Linked DNA regions of Homo sapiens: all the other regions are linked to region 3. The links are contacts of gene promoters, found by promoter capture Hi-C in blood cells and fetal thymus (Javierre and others, 2016). All regions are on one chromosome and are shown on one strand. The core of a region is centred on a gene start or on the middle of the fragment in contact, and the rest is flanking DNA. Distances in the headings are between cores, read along the strand shown. Region 1 overlaps LYPLAL1-AS1 (LYPLAL1 antisense RNA 1). Region 2 overlaps LYPLAL1-AS1 (LYPLAL1 antisense RNA 1). Region 3 holds the start of TGFB2 (transforming growth factor beta 2). Region 4 overlaps LYPLAL1-AS1 (LYPLAL1 antisense RNA 1). Region 5 overlaps LYPLAL1-AS1 (LYPLAL1 antisense RNA 1). Region 6 overlaps LYPLAL1-AS1 (LYPLAL1 antisense RNA 1). Region 7 overlaps LYPLAL1-AS1 (LYPLAL1 antisense RNA 1).

Evidence for each region. Contacts are between HindIII fragments. The CHiCAGO score rates a contact against its expected background, and 5 or more counts as called.
Region 1: a contact is called between a fragment that was not itself captured here and the fragment with the promoter of TGFB2 in region 3, in 3 of 17 cell types (naive CD4 T cells, total CD4 T cells and monocytes). The highest score is 6.7, in naive CD4 T cells.
Region 2: a contact is called between a fragment that was not itself captured here and the fragment with the promoter of TGFB2 in region 3, in 1 of 17 cell types (monocytes). The highest score is 5.9, in monocytes.
Region 4: a contact is called between a fragment that was not itself captured here and the fragment with the promoter of TGFB2 in region 3, in 2 of 17 cell types (monocytes and M0 macrophages). The highest score is 9.9, in monocytes.
Region 5: a contact is called between a fragment that was not itself captured here and the fragment with the promoter of TGFB2 in region 3, in 2 of 17 cell types (M0 macrophages and monocytes). The highest score is 6.4, in M0 macrophages.
Region 6: a fragment that was not itself captured here is called in contact with the fragment with the promoter of TGFB2 in region 3 in 2 of 17 cell types (monocytes and M0 macrophages); the score reaches 8.4 in monocytes.
Region 7: a fragment that was not itself captured here is called in contact with the fragment with the promoter of TGFB2 in region 3 in 1 of 17 cell types (monocytes); the score reaches 6.2 in monocytes.

Annotation. Positions count from the first base shown.
Region 1 is chr1:219,435,269-219,437,968 of GRCh38, reverse strand. LYPLAL1-AS1 (LYPLAL1 antisense RNA 1) reads left to right here. Exons shown (of 4, transcript NR_135822.1): 3 at 796-913; 4 at 2,556-2,700. It also overlaps a transcript of LYPLAL1 not described here. Among named protein-coding and RNA genes, the nearest start is that of LYPLAL1-AS1, 120 kb to the left of the region's middle. The HindIII fragment of the contact is 1,107 bases long and covers 825-1,931 here.
Region 2 is chr1:219,545,193-219,547,892 of GRCh38, reverse strand. All of the region lies in intron 1 of LYPLAL1-AS1 (LYPLAL1 antisense RNA 1), which reads left to right. Among named protein-coding and RNA genes, the nearest start is that of LYPLAL1-AS1, 11 kb to the left of the region's middle. The HindIII fragment of the contact is 6,469 bases long and covers 1-2,700 here.
Region 3 is chr1:218,344,076-218,347,038 of GRCh38, reverse strand. TGFB2 (transforming growth factor beta 2) reads right to left here and starts at 1,703. Exons shown (of 7, transcript NM_003238.6): 1 at 1-1,703. The coding sequence starts at 337. TGFB2-AS1 (TGFB2 antisense RNA 1) reads left to right here and starts at 1,361. Exons shown (of 3, transcript NR_046268.1): 1 at 1,361-1,436; 2 at 1,651-1,864; 3 at 2,577-2,843. RefSeq lists enhancers at 1-154, 1,286-1,335 and a silencer at 1,716-1,775. The HindIII fragment of the contact is 5,586 bases long and covers 1-2,963 here.
Region 4 is chr1:219,455,986-219,458,797 of GRCh38, reverse strand. All of the region lies in intron 2 of LYPLAL1-AS1 (LYPLAL1 antisense RNA 1), which reads left to right. Among named protein-coding and RNA genes, the nearest start is that of LYPLAL1-AS1, 100 kb to the left of the region's middle. The HindIII fragment of the contact is 3,156 bases long and covers 1-2,812 here.
Region 5 is chr1:219,498,830-219,501,558 of GRCh38, reverse strand. The region is part of intron 1 of LYPLAL1-AS1 (LYPLAL1 antisense RNA 1); the gene reads left to right. Among named protein-coding and RNA genes, the nearest start is that of LYPLAL1-AS1, 57 kb to the left of the region's middle. RefSeq lists an enhancer at 1-76. The HindIII fragment of the contact is 3,970 bases long and covers 1-2,729 here.
Region 6 is chr1:219,525,979-219,528,929 of GRCh38, reverse strand. The region is part of intron 1 of LYPLAL1-AS1 (LYPLAL1 antisense RNA 1); the gene reads left to right. Among named protein-coding and RNA genes, the nearest start is that of LYPLAL1-AS1, 30 kb to the left of the region's middle. The HindIII fragment of the contact is 1,008 bases long and covers 769-1,776 here.
Region 7 is chr1:219,474,340-219,477,237 of GRCh38, reverse strand. All of the region lies in intron 1 of LYPLAL1-AS1 (LYPLAL1 antisense RNA 1), which reads left to right. Among named protein-coding and RNA genes, the nearest start is that of LYPLAL1-AS1, 82 kb to the left of the region's middle. The HindIII fragment of the contact is 5,351 bases long and covers 1-2,898 here.

The DNA of each region.
Region 1 (2,700 bases), core at 129-2,628, 1.1 Mb before region 3:
ATGGTGAAACCCCATCTCTACTAAAAATACAAAAATTAGCCAGGCGTGGTGGTGGGCGCCTGTAATCCCAGCTACACGGGAGACTGAGGCAGGATAATCACTTGAACCGGGGAGGTGGAGGTTGCAGTGAGCTGAGATCACACCACTGCACTCTAGCTTGGGTGACAGACTGAGATTCCTTCATAAAATAAAATAAAATAAAATAAAATAAAATAAATACAATAAAATAATAAAATAAAATACAGAGTGTCTTTGGGACCAGGGAGAGAAGGGACTTAATTGTTGCACACCCTAAAAACAATAGAATAAAAGATTGTACCAAAGGGGGCAAGATAAAATATATATTTAATATCTACTGAAACATTTCCCTGAACTCCAGTTTGGGAGAGGTACCTGGCAGCACAGATCTATGTGAGATCCCTCCTATTGCAATTTAATATGGAAATGTAGGGAGGGAGGGGAAGGATCAGAGTCAGGGAAACCAGGAATGGGTGTATTGCAAGAGTTCGGGTAAGAGACAGTGAGGTCCTTAGCTGGGATACTGGCTTTGAGATGAAGAAGACGTGGAAGATTTGAGAGCTATTTAGGAGGGATGGAGTGGGGTGGGAAGAGAGAAAGAAAACAGGATGTCCTAGTTATTAATGCTTTACAGGTGGGATGATGGGCAGAACATGGAAAGATGGTGTGAGAAGGGGAGAGTCCCACAGGCTGATGGTGGCATTCCTGCTCCTGCTCTGAGCTCACCCAGCCCTGTGGCACTCCAACTTCTACTAACTGGTGGGGTCACACTCCCAGTATTTTCCAGAGAGAAGTACTGAGAAGCTTAAAGTATTTGAATGGGAGGAGGAGAAGCAAACTACAGCTACTTCAGAGGATAACACTAAACACCTAGTCCACTCTGTATACACTAGAGGTAAGAGAGGTGGTTCATAGAACTTCACAGGCACCCAGAGTTTTCTCCTAGCCTTCTTGGTTAATTCTGTGTTGTCTAATATATCAAGAAAAAATAGTGTAACAGAGTTCCCAATCTCAAACTAAACCCTGAGATTTATTTTTTTGAAACACTGAAGCAAAGAACCTGGAAAAATTGTTATTTAGAAGTTGCAAGATGTTGTTTTGACTCCCTAGAAGTTCTTTCATTTTTCAGAGCCAGCTGTTCTCTTATGGAGGAGAGCCACCAGAATGTGATCTTTACTAATACAAATGCAGAACAAGTATTAACTCAACGCTCTTCATAATAATAAAATTCACTGCCCACTTGAGTGCACATGTTTATTATGAAATGGTAACACACTTAGCCTTGTGGATGAGGAACCCCAAATCTGAGCCCTGTGACTTAAGGGTCCAGACTTAAGGGTCTGCTCTGGCTATGCCTCTTCCCATGGGGCAAGGAATCTCTAGGCCAAATTAGAGCACACACTCCTTCCCCCTTCAAGACTAAGCTCCGGGCAGGCAGATTTATCTTTTAGGTACAATAGGTGGAGTGCCAAGGGCCCCTATTACTGTTAGGGGCCACAAAAATGTTCAAATTTCTTTTAAAATCAGAAAAAAAAGAATGAACTTTTAGGTTGAAAACATATCTGACATCATATTAATATATTTATTTCTATACCAACACAGTCGTAAGACATAACTTGTGATTTATTTTATGGAAAAGGGGGCCCACAAATACAAAGGCACCTAGAGTTCTTTAAAGACATAAAGTGGCTATCCCTCTAGGAGGCTAGAACCCCAGACTTTTATGTCCAAGTGGCCAAAGCCTACTTCCAGGGCCTGCGAGGGCCTCTTGCCCAGGTGTCTTCTTTTAAGAGCAGGCAGCACACAGGTATGAGCACCCCAAAGCACACCAGTGACTATGGCTGATCTTGTACAGTCTGTGACTGGAGTGTGGGTGTACGGGCTAGTGTGTTCCTGTGTCTATGTGTGAAGCTTCTTGTAATAGGAGATGGCACTGGGGCAGAATGAAAAGGAGTATAGACAAGGATTGGGGCTAGTTCTCTTCAAAATTTTGCATTCTGGTGCAGACTGTGTAGACAGCATTACTTGAACAAACTGTATGAGAACAGACATTGCAAATGCTTTAAATGAATGTGGGATGTGTCACTGATCTTTCACTATTATTATTATTATTATTATCATTTTTGGGACGGAATCTCACTATGTCACCCAGGCTGGAGTGTAATGGTGTGGTCTCGGCTCACTGCAACCTCCACCTCCCGGGTTCAAGTGATTCTCCTGCCTCAGCCTCCCGAGTAGCTGGGACTACAGGCATGCACCACCACACCCAGCTTATTTTTTGTATTTTTAGTACAGACGGGGTTTCACTATGTTGGCCAGGCTGGTCTCAAACTCCTGACCTCGTGATCCGCCTGCCTCGGCCTCCCAAAGTACTGGGATTGATTACAGGCATGAGCCACCGCACCCAGCCTGATCTTTCACTATTATTAACATTAGGAAGATAACATTGTACACTAAGCCCATCAAAGAGATGCAAGTTAAGTGCAGGCTAATAACAACTTTCTGTAAATAATTTAATTTTGAATTTTATCTAACAGGTGCTGTTAATTTTCTTGTGGAGAAGGAACTGTCTTTAGAAAAATATCTCAAAAAGCCACTGAAGTAGAAAGTTTCAGCATGCTGAAGATGGAACTTGAGAAGATAGAAAGTTCTGGGTCCTTAGTGGCATGACTGAGTCGCTGG
Region 2 (2,700 bases), core at 27-2,526, 1.2 Mb before region 3:
CCATCAATTTCTAGGTGATAGGCAAAGAAGAAAGTTATAATAGAAAATGTCTTCTCAGTTGCAGTAATTCTGTGTGTATGCTTATTGCTTGAATAATAATAAATAAGGACTAGTTGATTAGCTGTGTTGATAGGATCATATCATGTTTCTTGGGGCACTTAGTAAAGAAGGAGGTTGGGCCCAATCAAATAGAGATGGAAAAGATACAAAATATTCAGACAAAAAAACATAGGCACGAAGGCAGATAAATACAAAAACCACAACACTGCACACTGAGAAAGGTGGATTCGGGTTAGTGCTGGTGGGTTGGAGGAAGATCAATAAGAATGAAGCAATGCTCCCCAGCAGATGACCAACTTGAGATATGTTTTAAAAGGAGTGGTGTGATTTGGCGAATATTAAGGCCTCGTGCACAGTCTAAAAATCGATTCCACATTCTCGGTGCCTTTTACAGGGTGTTCGCACTAAAAGTGGTGTGGTGTATTTGTTTCCAGGCAAAATTCAATTTAAAAGCAGGAATAATTGAAAACATCATTTTGAATGATGTGATTCTAAAAATGGAATAAAAAAATGTTGACAAGCCTTCTGAGCTCTCACCACTCTCGCCTTCTTGACTGCAAGAGGAACTTCTGAAGACTTAGATTTCTTTTGTTATCTGAGACACTTTATAATTCCTTTTAAAAGTGTGCATATGTGCTGAACTAAGCCACGGTTACCTTCAACTCCTAGGCCAGTAAGCCAGTCAATTAACAAATGCTTAAGTCTGCCTTCTAAACACTTACAGTTAAGTTTTAGCAAGTTGAGGATCCACCCATTAAGAAATTGTCTTTGATGCACTTAATGACTACCTATAGGCCTAGCCATTTAAGACATCAGACCCAGAACTACTGTCTTGTTCTAGTCTCAGACAGGACTTTTGTTGCCCAAACTACTCTTTTGTTAGTGAGGAAAAACACTGCCTCAATGGATCTAGGACATAAATTTTTTTTTTTTTTCTGTTCATAGAACTTTATTTATTTATTTTTTTATTGATCATTCTTGGGTGTTTCTCGCAGAGGGGGATTTGGCAGGGTCATAGGACAATAGTGGAGGGAATGTCAGCAGATAAACAAGTGAACAAAGGTCTCTGGTTTTCCTAGGCAGAGGACCCTGCGGCCTTCCGCAGTGTTTGTGTCCCTGGGTACTTAAGATTAGGGAGTGGTGATGACTCTTAACGAGCATGCTGCCTTCAAGCATCTGTTTAACAAAGCACATCTTGCACTGCCCTTAATCCATTTAACCCTGAGTGGACACAGCACATGTTTCAGAGAGCACAGGGTTGGGGGTAAGGTCACAGATCAACAGGATCCCAAGGCAGAAGAATTTTTCTTAGTACAGAACAAAATGAAAAGTCTCCCATGTCTACTTCTCTCTACACAGACACGGCAACCATCCGATTTCTCAATCTTTTCCCCACCTTTCCCGCCTTTCTATTCCACAAAACGGCCATTGTCATCATGGCCCGTTCTCAATGAGCTGTTGGGTACACCTCCCAGACGGGGTCGTGGCCCGGCAGAGGGGCTCCTCACTTCCCAGTAGGGGCGGCCGGGCAGAAGCGCCCCTCACCTCCCGGATGGGGCGGCTGGCCGGGCGGGGGGCTGAACCCCCCACCTCCCTCCCGGACGTGGCGGCTGGCCGGGCAGAGGGGCTCCTCACTTCCCAGTAGGGGTAGCCGGGCAGAGGCGCCCCTCACCTCCCAGTAGGGGTAGCCGGGCAGAGGCGCCCCTCACCTCCCGGATGGGGCGGCTGGCCGGGCGGGGGGCTGACCCCCCCATCTCCCTCCCGGACGTGGCGGCTGGCCGGGCAGAGGGGCTCCTCACTTCCCAGTAGGGGTAGCCGGGCAGAGGCGCCCCTCACCTCCCAGTAGGGGTAGCCGGGCAGAGGCGCCCCTCACCTCCCGGACGGGGCGGCTGGCCGGGCGGGGGGCTTACCCCCCCACCTCCCTCCAGGACGGGGCCGCTGGCCTGGCGGGGCTGACCCCCACCTCCCTCCCGGACGGGGTGGCTGCCGGGCAGAGACGCTCCTCACTTCCCAGACGGGGTGGCTGCCGGACGGAGGGGCTCCTCACTTCTCAGACGGGGCGGTTGCCAGGCAGAGGGTCTCCTCACTTCTCAGATGGGGCGGCCGGGCAGAGACGCTCCTCACCTCCCAGACGGGGTCCCGGCCGGGCAGAGGCGCTCCTCACATCCTAGACGGGGCGGCGGGGCAGAGGCGCTCCCCACATCCCAGACGATGGGCGGCCGGGCAGACACGCTCCTCACTTCCTAGATGGGATGGCGGCGGGGAAGAGGCGCTCCTCACTTCCTAGATGGGATGGCGGCCGGGCAGAGACGCTCCTCACTTTCCAGACTGGGCAGCCAGGCAGAGGGGCTCCTCACATCCCAGACGATGGGCGGCCAGGCAGAGACGCTCCTCACTTCCCAGATGGGGTGGCGGCCGGGCAGAGGCTGCAATCTCGGCTCTTTGGGAGGCCAAGGCAGGCAGCTGGGAGGTGGTTGTAGCGAGCCGAGATCACGCCACTGCACTCCAGCCTGGGCACCATTGAGCACTGAGTGAACGAGACTCCGTCTGCAATCCCGGCACCTCGGGAGGCCGAGGCTGGCAGATCACTCGCGGTTAGGAGCTGGAGACCAGCCCGGCCAACACAGCGAAACCCCGTCT
Region 3 (2,963 bases), core at 454-2,953:
GGAAGAAGGGCGGCATGTCTATTTTGTAAACCTCCTTGGCGTAGTACTCTTCGTCGCTCCTCTCGCGCTCGCAGGCGGCCGCCCTCCGGCTCGCCTTCTCCTGGAGCAAGTCCCTGGTGCTGTTGTAGATGGAAATCACCTCCGGGGGGACTTCCTCGGGCTCAGGATAGTCTTCTGGGGGACTGGTGAGCTTCAGCTTGCTCAGGATCTGCCCGCGGATCGCCTCGATCCTCTTGCGCATGAACTGGTCCATATCGAGTGTGCTGCAGGTAGACAGGCTGAGCGCGACCGTGACCAGATGCAGGATCAGAAAAGCGCTCAGCACACAGTAGTGCATTTTTTAAAAAAGTGGAAAAAAAAGTTGTTTTTAAAAGTCAGAATAAAAAAAAGAAATCAACAATTCTCAAAGTATAGATCAAGGAGAGTTGTTTGGTTTTTTGTTGTTGTTGTTTTTGATGCGAAACTTTTGCAAACAATCTAGTCAATGCCCAACAGAAAAACGTATCCTGCTTGAATTCCTTTAAAAAGAAAAGGCCAGTAGTTCCAAAAGTGGAAATATTAATACGGGACGGGCAGAGGGAACCCTGACTTTGGCGAGTAAGAAGAAAAAAATTCTTGGAGCAATGAGATGGGGAAAAAAAGAGACGAGTGGCTATTAAGTAGAAATAAATTTAAGAGGAGGAAGTGGAGTTCAGTGTGTCAGTCTCGGGTGCGGAGTGGCGGATCTGAACTCGGCTCCTCCGGCCAAAAGGGAAGAGATGAAAAGGTCCCGGGGCTGGCAGCTGGCGAACTGACGGGAGGGGCGCCGGGAGCGCGGTGAGGGGGGCCGCCGAGGCTGACCTGGGCTGAAATTTATATATTTAAAGAAGGAGCGGTTCGGTCCTGCCTTCCACTGCGGCGCTGAGAGCAGGAGCAGCAGCAGCTCCGGAGCAGAGAAGCGCACACGTGTGTGCGTGCGTGTGTGTGTGTGTGTGTGTGTGTGCGTGTGCGCGCGCTGGGGGCGAGCCCAGCGCACCGCGGGGAGGAGGGTGCGCTTCGCAGGGCGCTCGGTACTCGGTCGGGTGCCGCAGGGGCCGCAGAGGCTGCTGAGGCGGCGCGGATCCTGCTCTGGGAGCTGCGCTCCGTGGCCTACACCCTGGCGGGCGCGCGCTGACCCGCTTGGTTACTCCACGTTGCTGCCGCCGCCGCTTGCAAACGCTTCCAGCCTCCAGCTCCCTCCTTCTCCTGCTCCTCCTTCTCTTGCTCCAAACGCCAACCCAGCCACAGACGATCAGCCGTCGCGGTTGCGTTCACCCCCTGCGGATCACAACGGCAGCCCTTGCGACACCCTGGCTGGGGAGTTTTATTCCTGAGGGGGTTGCGCAGGGGCTCCCTTGGACTCCCACCCTTTCCCAACCTCTGCTGGCTTCTCCCCAACGTGGAATTGCTCGCTTAGGGTAGGTAGGCACTTGCCACCCTAAAATAGATCCTCTCTGTCTCCTCCTGTCTGCAGCCGGGCAGCCCCTCAGTTTGTTCCTGGATGACTCCCTAGACCGTCAGGCTAATATTCTCCATCCCCCTCCCCTGCCTCTTTCACTTGCGCTCTCGCTCTGCTGTCTCTTTCTCTCTTTCTCTTTCTATCTCTATCTCAATCTGTCTTTCTCTTGTCAGGAGCTTCTGGAGCTCCGCTCGGAGCGAACCTTCTGCTGCCAGCAGATAACATCACGATCTTGCCGGGGAGGGGAGATTTATAAGTTCTCTCTGAACCACGTGTCTGCCTTCAACAAAGTGACGTGCTAGGATTACAGTCAGAAGTCCTCTCGTTACTTAGACCACGAGCTCTCCCCGAACCGTTGAGGGAGTGTGGAAATGAGGACCGCTGTGGGTAAGGGAGGAAGGAGGTGGAATGTGCGCCCTGACAACAGTGATTTACGGTATTTACTTTCCAGTCATTTTGGACAGGTCTGTTGAAGGAAGGACAATCAAGTCTCCCGTTTTTACTTAGTGTAGCTCAGTCACAGCCTCCCAAGCTGAATCACTTGCTCTAGAAGGGAAGGCTTCCCTCCTGTATTATGTGTGCACACGCACCCCTATGGGAGGGAGCACTAGTCTACTCAGGGCCAGGCCAGTACTGAAGACATACCTTCCAATCTTTTAAATTCATGTCCTACCTCTTATTTTCTGGGATACCTTAGCAGGTTGCCATCCCAGAATTTATTTTGTTAGTTTGTTGTTTACAATGTACCCCTCTGTTTGTGAACTGCTGGAAAACAGAGATCCATCAATTTTACCTAAAGAATAAGGTATACTTGTTTGTTTTACTGATTTGAATGAATGGTCACCTTTATAATTTGCTGCCTAAGCCACTTCTTGTATGGCTTTCTTCTTCACCTTCTTGCTAGGCTAAACATTATCAACCAACTTCATTCTTTCCATAGCATTAATCCAGGAAGCTGGAATTTTAAGTGTTTGATGTCTACTGTTCTACACTACTCATAACTTGACATTTTCAATTTCAACTAAGTCTAAATTAGATGAATACAAGAATAACTCTTACCACTGTTCCACCTTCCCTTTTTCTTTTATTTTACCTTTAGTTACTCAAAGTCAACATTTTCATTTCGGCATGACTCTGCAGCCATACTGACCAGACAGATGATTTAAACTGGAAACTCTGTTGAATGTACTCCCAAACCCAAGATCTCTATACTGTTCTCTACTTCAGATGTTCCTGAGTTCAGAAAAGTCACAAAGAACTTTCTATCACTTTTGGAATTTATACTTCAGTTGTGTATGGGGCCTAGGTTATTAGTAGAGCACTGAATAAATAAAATAATAATAGCTAACATATACTACACTTAGTAATTTGATGTGTGTTGTGTATGGTCATTTAATCTTCACTATGAACCTATAAAGTGGGTCTTATTATCCATATCTGGCAGATGAGGAGACTGAGGTACAAAGAAGTTAAGTACTTTGTTCGA
Region 4 (2,812 bases), core at 276-2,775, 1.1 Mb before region 3:
GTGCTATTCACATATTAAGATTTTGATTGGGACAGAGATATACAAGAATATCACTGGTGCTTTTGAAGCAGTAAATTAATTTAAAATTTAAAAAATCAGAATTCCAAAATGATAGAAAAATGTACCTCCTGGGGCCACAGTAATTCAATGAGTCCAGGGCAGTGGGACATGTCCTCTGCCGGATTCCCATGTAGCCAGATCCGATAGTGTTATTTTAAGTACAGAAAGAAGTTGGCTTTTTAAAGTACTTTTTTAATTATGGAAAGAAGTTCAGCTTTGAATGCCTGGGCTGTGTTTGGTTGTTTAATATATAGAATAACTCCCTAGGAAAAAAATCCTAGGGAGGTAAGTATGAAACAGTGGGAAGATTGTAATTATGCAGAACTTTGAAGGAACTGCAACATTTGGGTTAACTTAATGTTGTGGTTAATTGTAGGTTAGTCAGAAAATCATTATTTCAACACTTTTAAAATAATCCTTACAAAATGCCCTTAGCAAATTCCCATGTTGCAAGCATAGCTATATCTTTCTTTGTTGTCTGAGGATTTTTAGAGCCTTCATGTCAATATTGCAAACACAAACTTTCATTTAAGTGTTAGAGGGCAAGATGGTGCAGGGTATTGGTCTTTGCCTGAATTAACCATTTTATATTCCCTAGACATTGGCTTAGTTGAGTGTTTGATCTCAGGTTGATTTTTTATAATTGTCTCTTCTTTACTATCCCACTCTTTTTTTTATTATTATACTTTAAGTTTTAGGGTACATGTGCACATTGTGCAGGTTAGTTACATATGTATACATGTGCCATGCTGGTGCGCTGCACCCACTAACTCGTTATCTAGCATTAGGTATATCTCCCAATGCTATCCCTCCCCCCTCCCCCCACCCCACCACAGTCCCCAGAGTGTGATATTCCCCTTCCTGTGTCCATGTGATCTCATTGTTCAGTTCCCACCTATGAGTGAGAATATGCCGTGTTTGGTTTTTTGTTCTTGTGATAGTTTACTGAGAATGATGATTTCCAATTTCATCCATGTCCCTACAAAGGACACGAACTCATCATTTTTTATGGCTGCGTAGTATTCCATGGTGTATATGTGCCACATTTTCTTAATCCAGTCTATCATTGTTGGACATTTGGGTTGGTTCCAAGTTTTTGCTATTGTGAATAATGCCGCAATAAACATACGTGTGCATGTGTCTTTATAGCAGCATGATTTATAGTCCTTTGGGTATATACCCAGTAATAGGATGGCTGGGTCAAATGGTATTTCTAGTTCTAGATCCCTGAGGAATTGCCACACTGACTTCCACAATGGTTGAACTAGTTTACAGTCCCACCAACAGTGTAAAAGTGTTCCTATTTCTCCACATCCTCTCCAGCACCTGTTGTTTCCTGACTTTTTAATGATTGCCATTCTAACTGGTGTGAGATGGTATCTCATTGTGGTTTTGATTTGCATTTCTCTGATGGCCAGTGATGATGAGCATTTTTTCATGTGTTTCTTGGCTGCATAAATGTCTTCTTTTGAGAAGTGTCTGTTCATGTCCTTCACCCACTTTTTGATGGGGTTGTTTGTTTTTTTCTTGTAAATTTGTTTGAGTTCATTGTAGATTCTGGATATTAGCCCTTTGTCAGATGAGTAGGTTGCGAAAATTTTCTCCCATTTTGTAGGTTGCCTGTTCACTCTGATGGTAGTTTCTTTTGCTGTGCAGAAGCTCTTTAGTTTAATTAGATCCCATTTCTCAATTTTGGCTTTTGTTGCCATTGCTTTTGGTGTTTTGGACATGAAGTCCTTGCCCATGCCTATGTCCTGAATGGTAATGCCTAGGTTTTCTTCTAGGGTTTTTATGGTTTTAGGTCTAAGGTTTAAATCTTTAATCCATCTTGAATTGATTTTTGTATAAGGTGTAAGGAAGGGATCCAGTTTCAGCTTTCTACATATGGCTAGCCAGTTTTCCCAGCACCATTTATTAAATAGGGAATCCTTTCCCCATTGCTTGTTCTTCTCAGGTTTGTCAAAGATCAGATAGTTGTAGATATGCGGCGTTATTTCTGAGGGCTCTGTTCTGTTCCATTGATCTATATCTCTGTTTTGGTACCAGTACCATGCTGTTTTGGTTACTGTAGCCTTGTAGTATAGTTTGAAGTCAGGTAGTGTGACGCCTCCAGCTTTGTTCTTTTGGCTTAGGATTGACTTGGCGATGCGGGCTCTTTTTTGGTTCCATATGAACTTTAAAGTAGTTTTTTCCAATTCTGTGAGGAAAGTCATTGGTAGCTTTATGGGGATGGCATTGAATCTGTAAATTACCTTGGGCAGTATGGCCATTTTCACGATGTTGATTCTTCCTACCCATGAGCATGGAATGTTCTTCCATTTGTTTGTATCCTCTTTTATTTCCTTGAGCAGTGGTTTGTAGTTCTCCTTGAAGAGGTCCTTCACATCCCTTGTAAGTTGGATTCCTAGGTATTTTATTCTCTTTGAAGCAATTGTGAATGGGAGTTCACTCATGATTTGGCTCTCTGTTTGTCTGTTGTTGGTGTATAAGAATGCTTGTGATTTTTGTACATTGATTTTGTATCCTGAGACTTTGCTGAAGTTGTTTATCAGCTTAAGGAGATTTTGGGCTGAAACAATGGGGTTTTCTAGATATACAATCATGTCGTCTGCAAACAGGGACAATTTGATTTCCTCTTTTCCTAATTGAATACCCTTTATTTCCTTCTCCTGCCTAATTGCCCTGGCCAGAACTTCCAACACTATGTTGAATAGGAGTGGTGAGAGAGGGCATCCCTGTCTTGTGCCAGTTT
Region 5 (2,729 bases), core at 139-2,638, 1.2 Mb before region 3:
ACTAAACAACTATCCGCAGATACTATTAAACGGAGTAAAAAACAAGGATATATGCATATTATTTTATGATTTAAAAGTGCTTTGGGCCAGGTGCAGTGGCTCACGCCTGTAATCGCTGCACTTTGGGGGGCCAAGGCAGGTGGATGGCCTGAGGTCAGGAGTTCAAGACCAGCCTGGCCAACATGGTGAAATCCTGTCTCTAGTAAAAATACAAAAATTAGCCAGGTGTGGTGGCAGGCACCTGTAGTCCCAGCTACTCAGGAGGCTGAGGCAAGAGAATTGCTTGAACCCAGGAGGCGGAGGTTGCAGTAAGCCGAGATCCTGCCGTTGCACTCCAGCCTAGGCGTCAAGAGCAAAACTTCATCTCAAAAAGAAAAAAAAAAGTGCTTTGATGTGCCCTGCGTCATTTCATGCTCATCTCAAGCCTCTGATATACTTTTAAAAGACACTCAACTTTTATTGAGGTGCAATTTACATAAAATGAAATTCTCACACTTTAAGTGTATGGGTTAAAGACTTTTGACAAAATATATACACTTACGTAACTCCACCTGAATCGAGATGTAGAACATTTTAATTTTTCCAGAAAGTTACCTCATGTCTTCTTCATTCAATAGTCTCCACCACACAACCCAGGTAACCATTGATTGAGTTTCTGTCACTATAAGACAGTCTCGCCTCTTTTAGATTTTCTCTTTCTTTCTTTCTCTCTCTCTCTCTCTCTTTTTTTTTTAAGACAGGATCTCTCTATGTTGTCTAGGCTGGTCTCACACTCCAGGGCTCAAGCAATCCTCCTGCTCCAGTCTCCCAAAGTGCTGAGATTACAAGTGTGAGCCACTGTGCCTGGCTCTATTTTCGAATTTCATAACAGAATGATATCCTATGTCCTCCTTTGCTCCCAGTTTCTTTCATCCAGTGTAATGAATGAAAGATTCATCCATGCTGTTGCATCAGTCAGCCCTTCTTTTGAGAAAGGGCTTCTTTCTCTGATTCTATTGAGGTCGAAACTCAAACTCAAAGAGGTGGGCGATTTGTCTGAAGGTCTCAGCTCACGAGTAGACCAACTAGGACTCCCACATTGATTTTATGCTTCCTAAATTACTTACCATGATGCTGCTCTTGGTGCTGAACTGAAAGGAAGAGAGCATTCACTCTTACTTTGCCAAACAATCATATGATGGAGGCATACGGAACATGAGGAAAGAGCATATTCTGATAGTCTGATGCAAGGATCACTTTACGGCTTACAGGATGAGCACCCGATATAGCCAAACCGATCAGAACCCTTTGCCTGGGTATTTGAATAAAGAATAGGGTAAAATCTTTTTTGTTATTAAAAGCTGTTAGCTATGATGCTTTGATGCTTAGGACTGGCCAGAAGGCATGTTTCTTGCCTTGTGGAGGAAATTTAAAGAAAGAAGTTGACATACAGAGAAAAGCAACATAAGAGACACAGAAAATCCTCACTGTTTGAAACTCTGGTTGCATTTATTTTTGAGGGCTAGCAGCATTCTCGTCCTTCCAGTGAATTGGTTATTTAACCCTTCATTTGATAATGTGAGATGCTTCATTATCTATGAGTAAATTTCCTCTAAGTTAATTTGATTAGTTTTCTATCACTTGCAATCAAAAGACCGCTGAGTAACATATTTCACTTAAAAGAATTTAACTGGAATTAGTCATTTGCATAATGTTGCCACATCTTGCAAAAGACCCTCAGTTTTCTTAGTAACTCAAGTTAAATATGCAGCATCGGTATTGTGCCAGGAAGAATGAAAGCCTGGTATTTACCTTTTCAAATAATCTTTGTTTCCATTTGGCATATACAGAGGTTGAAATATTAACAGTGCTTCCCAGGAGAAAACCTAGCTCTGTAAGGCCTATGGGTGATAAAACGTATTATATAAATACACTGTGTTCAAGATCAGCAAATTCTATACATTTTTTTCCCCACTGGGAGCTACTCATTTTTATGGAAAATCTCCTGGCCCACTATAATAAATGTGAATAAAACTGCTGGGAATACTTTAATTCTTCTCATATCAAATGCAGGTAGTGAATAATGTCTTATATATTTGAGATCCCATTTTCAGAAGTGGAATACTCATATGCGGGAAAGACTGGAGGTAGTTCACTTCCCTTTAAATAGAACAAATGCCACGAGCAAAAATAAGTCCTTCTTGTTTCATGTAAATAAAGGCCCCATTTTTTGAGGATCAGTTCCTACTTATGTACTTATGTTATCAGTGGTCCCAAAAGAACTATACAAGAAGTAGAACCTGACCCTTGGTTGAGTTTCTCTTTGGCTTCCTTTTGTTATTTCACTCTTCTTGGTTTTAGTGTGTCCTTTGTTTTGCTGCTTTTTCTTCTGTCGCTGTTTCCCTTTTTTTTTTCTCATTTCCCCAGAGATTCTTGAGAGTAGAGTCCAGTCCTCCACCAGTCCTCCATTCCTCTTCATGATGCCCAGTTGTGAACAAGAAGGAATGCCCTTGTCACCTTTCCACAAGCAGAAGGAGCATTCAAGGGTTTCCAGTTTGGATCTCCATGCTCCAGCATGTCGAGATGCTCAGAGGGTAAATGTATGAGAAACAAAGGGTAACTGAATTACCAATTTCAATTGTCTTCAAGATGTTAGCTCTTGCACACATGTAGCAATTCTTGATTGCTTAAGAGGTCCCTGGTGTGTTTTTGGCAAGTGAAGACCTTTACATGTGCCTGGTTCTGGGCCA
Region 6 (2,951 bases), core at 23-2,522, 1.2 Mb before region 3:
TAAGAAATGGCCTCTCAATAGTTACATCTTTATGGCATGGTTTGCCAGCAGGGACATCTGCGTGAAAATAGCCTTCCCTCCTTATCTGTAAATCTCAGGCAACTACATCTGACTGGTAGAATCTAATTTGTATTCGCAACACCAGTTGCTAAGAAGTGTGGGAAATGTGGACTTCAGCTTGTCTCACTCTGCGGAACAAGGAAGAAGGAGGGTTAAATAGGGGCTGAGCAAAGAAAACCATAGTATTTGCCATCCTTCTTTGACTTCTAAATGTCATCTGCCTTTCTCTTGCTTAATCTGCACTAGCCCATCTCTAAGGCCCTGTGCTGCCTTCAGACTCCTGCCCTGTTGCTGTCTGATTTCTTAAAAAGTTATATTAGCAAAGACAATTTTTCTTCCCTATGAAGGAATAACATGTTTCCTGACACATGAACAGAAAATTCAGGCATTTGGAAAGGTGTGGTAATCTCATATTATCACCAGAATAGTAGAAAACAGACTCCAAATGTGATCATTCATAAATATGGTTGGTCACGTTAGCTTTATTAAAACCTAAAAGCAGCTACATTTTCCACTTAGAGTGACTTCAGACACATAAAGAATTCTGTAGAAGCCTTCTACTTAGGAGGCGAGCTGAAGGTAGATTTCTTTCCCAGAGCAAGAAATTTGCTATTCTGATACGGACATGTGGGATATGTTACAGTGCACAGTTGCCCTCTCCTCTGAAGAAAATGCTGATTCTGCAACTGAGTGTGGCCTGAAAAAGCTTGTCTATGTGGAAGACACAAGCCCAGTTCTTAACCACTTTTCCCTTTGCACAGCCTTATTCTCCAGGAGGCCACAAGTACAGCATGTTAATTCAAACTTTTCAAAACCATGAAACCACTGAATATCTCAATATCCACGTGTGGACTCTCATTTGCCTACTCTGTGTTAACAGAGAAACATTTGGTTTTAAACAAGACTTTATTTAAGAGGAAAAAGTGTATAAGATTACATTTGAAAATGTAATTACTGAAAAGATAAACCATATGTTGTAGTCTTTGTTTTATCTCCTTTTCACTGAGGCCTGCTTTCAGGGGTTCATTTGGAGGTGTATGGAAATTCTAATTCTATAACCAAGCTGGGTAAGCTGAGTGTACTTACTCACCAGTAATACGTGTTTACATCTTGATGTAGTTATTGCCAAAGTATTTTATAGTCCAGTGATATAGTCTTACTTAAAAAGAGCACAAAATATTGACTCAGAGATGCTGAGCTTGAGGTTCCGCACCTGCCTCCCTCCTCTTCCCACTGCCGCCTTCCTCAAAGATTAAATAAAGGGAGGTTGTCATCAAGAGAGAAATCTGGGGCTGGCAGAGTGGGCCAGGAATAGATAAAGAATAAAAATTGTGTTTTCTGGTTCCTTTGACTTCAGGTTGAGTAGGTTGTCTATGCCACACTAGGACTAGACAAAACGTGAACTAGGAGCAAAATATTAACAGCCAGATGGGTGCTCACAGATGTTAAAACCCATTATAGGCCCCACTCAAAATCTTTTATAAATGCTACTTCTGACCTTTAGTAAGCGGAATTAATAACCTTCTTCCAAATGGGAAAAAAGGGGGGGACTAACCATGGTAGTAGTTTCTGCCTGTTGCAAATCTACCTGTCAATTTGTTTATGTACATCTTGGGTTCTTTTTGATAGATAAAGGTAATAGCCCAAAATGTTTGAAGTTGATAAGGGCTACTATTCCACCACAACCTTGCTACAAAGTTATAATGTAAGCAAGCTTTTGGTAAATTTCATTGTTGGTGTAGACATTTTTAAACAAACCTTTATGAGCAGACAAGCACAATATAGTCTGCTCTGTAAGTCCAATGTGGCCCCAGTACCCCAGTACTCTATTTTTTTAGTTGCTCCAACCAACATTCTGCTAGAAAGGTTAGCCTAAGGAAAAGGAGACAGCATTCTAGAGGTAGACTTCTGTTATCTGTTTAGCAGCAACAGGTAACAGAAATTTAGAGGTAATTTAGAAATCCTTCTAAACCAGTGGTTTAGACTATAGTAAGGTGAAATTGTGAAAGACTTTTAAATGAACCAAAAGATTAGCAGGTGTTTTCAGTAGAAAACTTTGCATTGTTTAGAGCAGGGGTCCTCAACCACCAGCAGGTACCATCTGTGGGCTGTTAGGAACTGGTCTGCACAGCAGAAGGTGAGCAGAAAGTGAGCAAGTATTACCACCTGAGCTCAGCCTCCTGTCATTAGATTCTTATAGGAGTGCAGACCCTGTTGTGAACTGTGCATGTGAGGGACCTAGGTTGCACGCTCCTTATGAGAATCTAATGCCTGATGATCTGAGGTGGAACAGTTTTATCCCGAAACTATACCCCGCTCCCCACCATCCTGTGTAATAATTGTCTTCCATGAAACTGGTCCCTGGTGCAAAAGTGTTGGGAACAACTGGTTTAGAGAATACCTTTGCGATTATTTGATTCTATGTAGTGTCTCCCTTTCACTGTCTGAGCTGTTTTACAATTCTGTAGATATAAGTTAACATGTAGAAAACTGACAGTAGGGCAAATAATTTTTATCTATACACATGCAAATAAATTCTATCTAGTGGAGGTTCAATGGACTTCCCCTCCCTACAGTGGAAGAAACCAGTTTTGTACCTATTTAAAAAATTCGTTTCAGCATTACTCATGGGCTTATATGTTTGTCTGGTCTTAGAGGTCTTCTCTGAATAAACTGTTACTTCTTTCCTGGTTTCCTCATTAGTTAGTGAGGCAAATAAAATCTTTGATACATGTTGTTTTTATATTATAAAGAGTCATAATTTTACTGATTTTAAAAAATTTATCCCCACCACCAAACAAAACCTAAGGGCTAATTTGGACCTGGCCAGATTTTTATAGGCTGTTCACCAGAGTGAGGAGTGAATCCAAAGTATTTCATCCAGTTTTCAA
Region 7 (2,898 bases), core at 90-2,589, 1.1 Mb before region 3:
TAAAGGGTCCCAATCTAGGCACAAAAGTGAGATTATTGTGCATTAATAGCTTCAATAAATCATATATCTTTTGGACAAACTAAACAATAGGATAGCATAATGTTTAAAATCTGAAAAAAAATTATTTGTTGAATCACTAAAATGTTATATTTGAATTTATTAAAAATATCTTTAATTCAATACACAAGGTTGATGTATGAAGATTACCTGCCTTCTCCATAATCCAATATTCAAAGAGATGAACTCAATTTAGTATATCTCTTCATTTTGTCTATTTTTGACAGTTTCTGTTTTACTTCTTGCTACAGTGTTACTTCCTGTGGTAATGGTTACAAATCAGGGAATAGGTTAAAAGTTTCTAGAAAAATTATGCAGGTGTTAAATCATGTACACCTAATCTCTTTCTTTTATAGGTAAAATTGAGGCTCAGAGAAAAGGGAAATAGTTTACCCGAAAAACTGGGTACAAATTCTCTATACATCCTACATTTGGCCTTGGGCAAGTTGTTCAGCCTCTGTTGCCCCAGCTGTGAAAAAGAGGCAATGTTAACTATAAGGTAAAGCTATGATGCTGATTAAATAAATGACATACAAAGTGTCTGGCACAGAATAGGTGCTCAGCAAACCACTAGTTGCCTTCCTCTTTCCTAAAGTCTCCATGGAGTTGTTACATATAACAACATGGAGTTGTTAAATATTTGGGAGCAGAATGCAAGAGTTGGCCCTCAATCTTGTGTTCTTCCCATTTCACCAGGCTGCTTCCTGCTGAGATTTATAGGGAAACTACCTTGTTGAAGAGCTAGCTGCTGACTCTCACTTGGGAATGTGTTGGGGAGATGGTGTGAGTGAAAGGTAGAGATGTGTTACAAACCCTGACTACCACCATGGCTGAAACTGCAACCACCAACTACAGGAGGGTCATTCATTGTAATAGAAAGGGGCTGTTGGTGGCAGAACTGTGTTTTCAGCATCCACAGCTGACAGTCCCCCTGAGGTTATAGAACTATGCTGCACACGAGTTCACAGCTGTGAGTGTGACACCGATGATAAAGCAATAATCCTCTCTATCTAATGTCCTTCCAGGTTGGGTGGCTGCCTGCCTTACCTAAATAGGTTTTGTGTAGACTTACATTTGAATGCATTCATTATACTCATAGAAACTGGTGGTGGCTTGAATAAACTCCTCATTCTCCTTGAGAAATAGCCTGAAATCATTCACTCGTCATTCCTTTCTTCCTCAGAAATGTCCTGAACCCTATCATATGCTTAAGATTTAGCAGTGCACAAAGAAAGATACAAAGAAGGAGTGTACACAGCCCTTCAAGTATTTTACAAGTCTGGGGTTTGCTAACAGACCTGGAAACTTAAACAGCAAACCACAGCAACAATTTATTCATTCATTCATTGAATATATATTTATTTAGAAATAATGCTGACCACCGACAAGGCTTTGGGCTAGGTGAACTGTAGCATAGAAGGATGAATATGATTTCTTTCTTTCCCTCTTTCTTTTTCTTTTCTTTCTTTCTTTCTTTCTTTCTTTCTCTCTTTCTTTTTCTGTTTCTCTTTCTTTCTTTCTTTCTTTCTTTCTTTCTTTCTTTCTTTCTTTCTTTCTTTCTTTCTTTCTTTCTTTCTTTCTTTCTTTCTTTCTTTCTTTCTTTCTTTCTTTCTTTCTTTCTTTCTTTCTTTCTTTCTTTCTTTCTTTTTGGGGTGGGCAGAGTTTCACTCTTGTTGCCCAGGCTGGAGTGCAATGGCACGATCTCGGCTCACTGAAACCTCCGCCTCCCAGGTTCAAGCGATTCCCCTGCCTCAGCCTCCTGAGTAGCTGGGATTACCGGCATGCACTACTGTGCCTGGCTAATTTTGTATTTTTATTAGAGACAGGGTTTCTCCATGTTGGTCAGGCTGGTCTCAAACTCCCGAACTCAGGTGATCTACCCACCTTGTCCTCCCAAAGTGCTGGGATTACAGGCATGAGCCACTGTGCCCAGCCCAATATAATTTGTTTCTAAGCAGCATGCAGTTAGATGAAGAAAGGACATTAGAGTGTTGAAGACAAACTTTAATATCTAGTATATAATATATGTATAGTATATAAGTATGAATAAGATGTACTAGGTAAATGATGTAAATTATGATAAATAGTCAAATAAATGTAAATAAGTTTGCGTTTGGCAAAGCCTCTGTGATCCAATCAGTGATTCTTAATCCCTAAGGTCATTAAGTCTTGCCCATCCTGCCTCCACAGTCACTTCTTCCTTCATTCTCTTTTCCTTTCTTGGTTCCTCTATATTTGATCCTTGTTATCTTGGTGCAATGAGTGACAGCCATCTTCTCAGAAGGAATGATGCTTGGAGGACGAGTGAGAATTAACCAGGTAGAAAGGGGAGGGCATTGTAGGGAATATAAATGCATGTGCAAGGGTCTGGAGAAAGGGAGAGATCACGGTATGTATGAGGGACTGAAAGAAAGCAGGACAGTTAGAACAAGAGGCAACATGGGATGAGATAAGTAGGGGATGTGTGCGATGGGGACACAGGGTTTGTTCAGTGAGGCCATGCAGAACTTGTGGGTCATAGGAGATAATTTTGTTTTTATTTGAAGAGCTCTGGAGATCATGACAAATCATCACAGACTATCATAGTTTCTAACTAGAAGGAATCTTGAGTTTCTCTAGTCTAAACCTTGACTTTATATCTGTCACTGTGTCTATATTGAGTGAACTTCTGGCCTATGCTGAAGAAAACAACTTAATTGCTAGGGAACTTGGGAATCCTGTGACTACTCATTCAACTTTTTTGTTGTTATTTCTCCTCTCTTATTTCTAAATTAACCATTTGAAAGTGAACAATTCAGTGGTGTTTAGTCCATTCACAGCACTGTGCCACCACCACTGCTA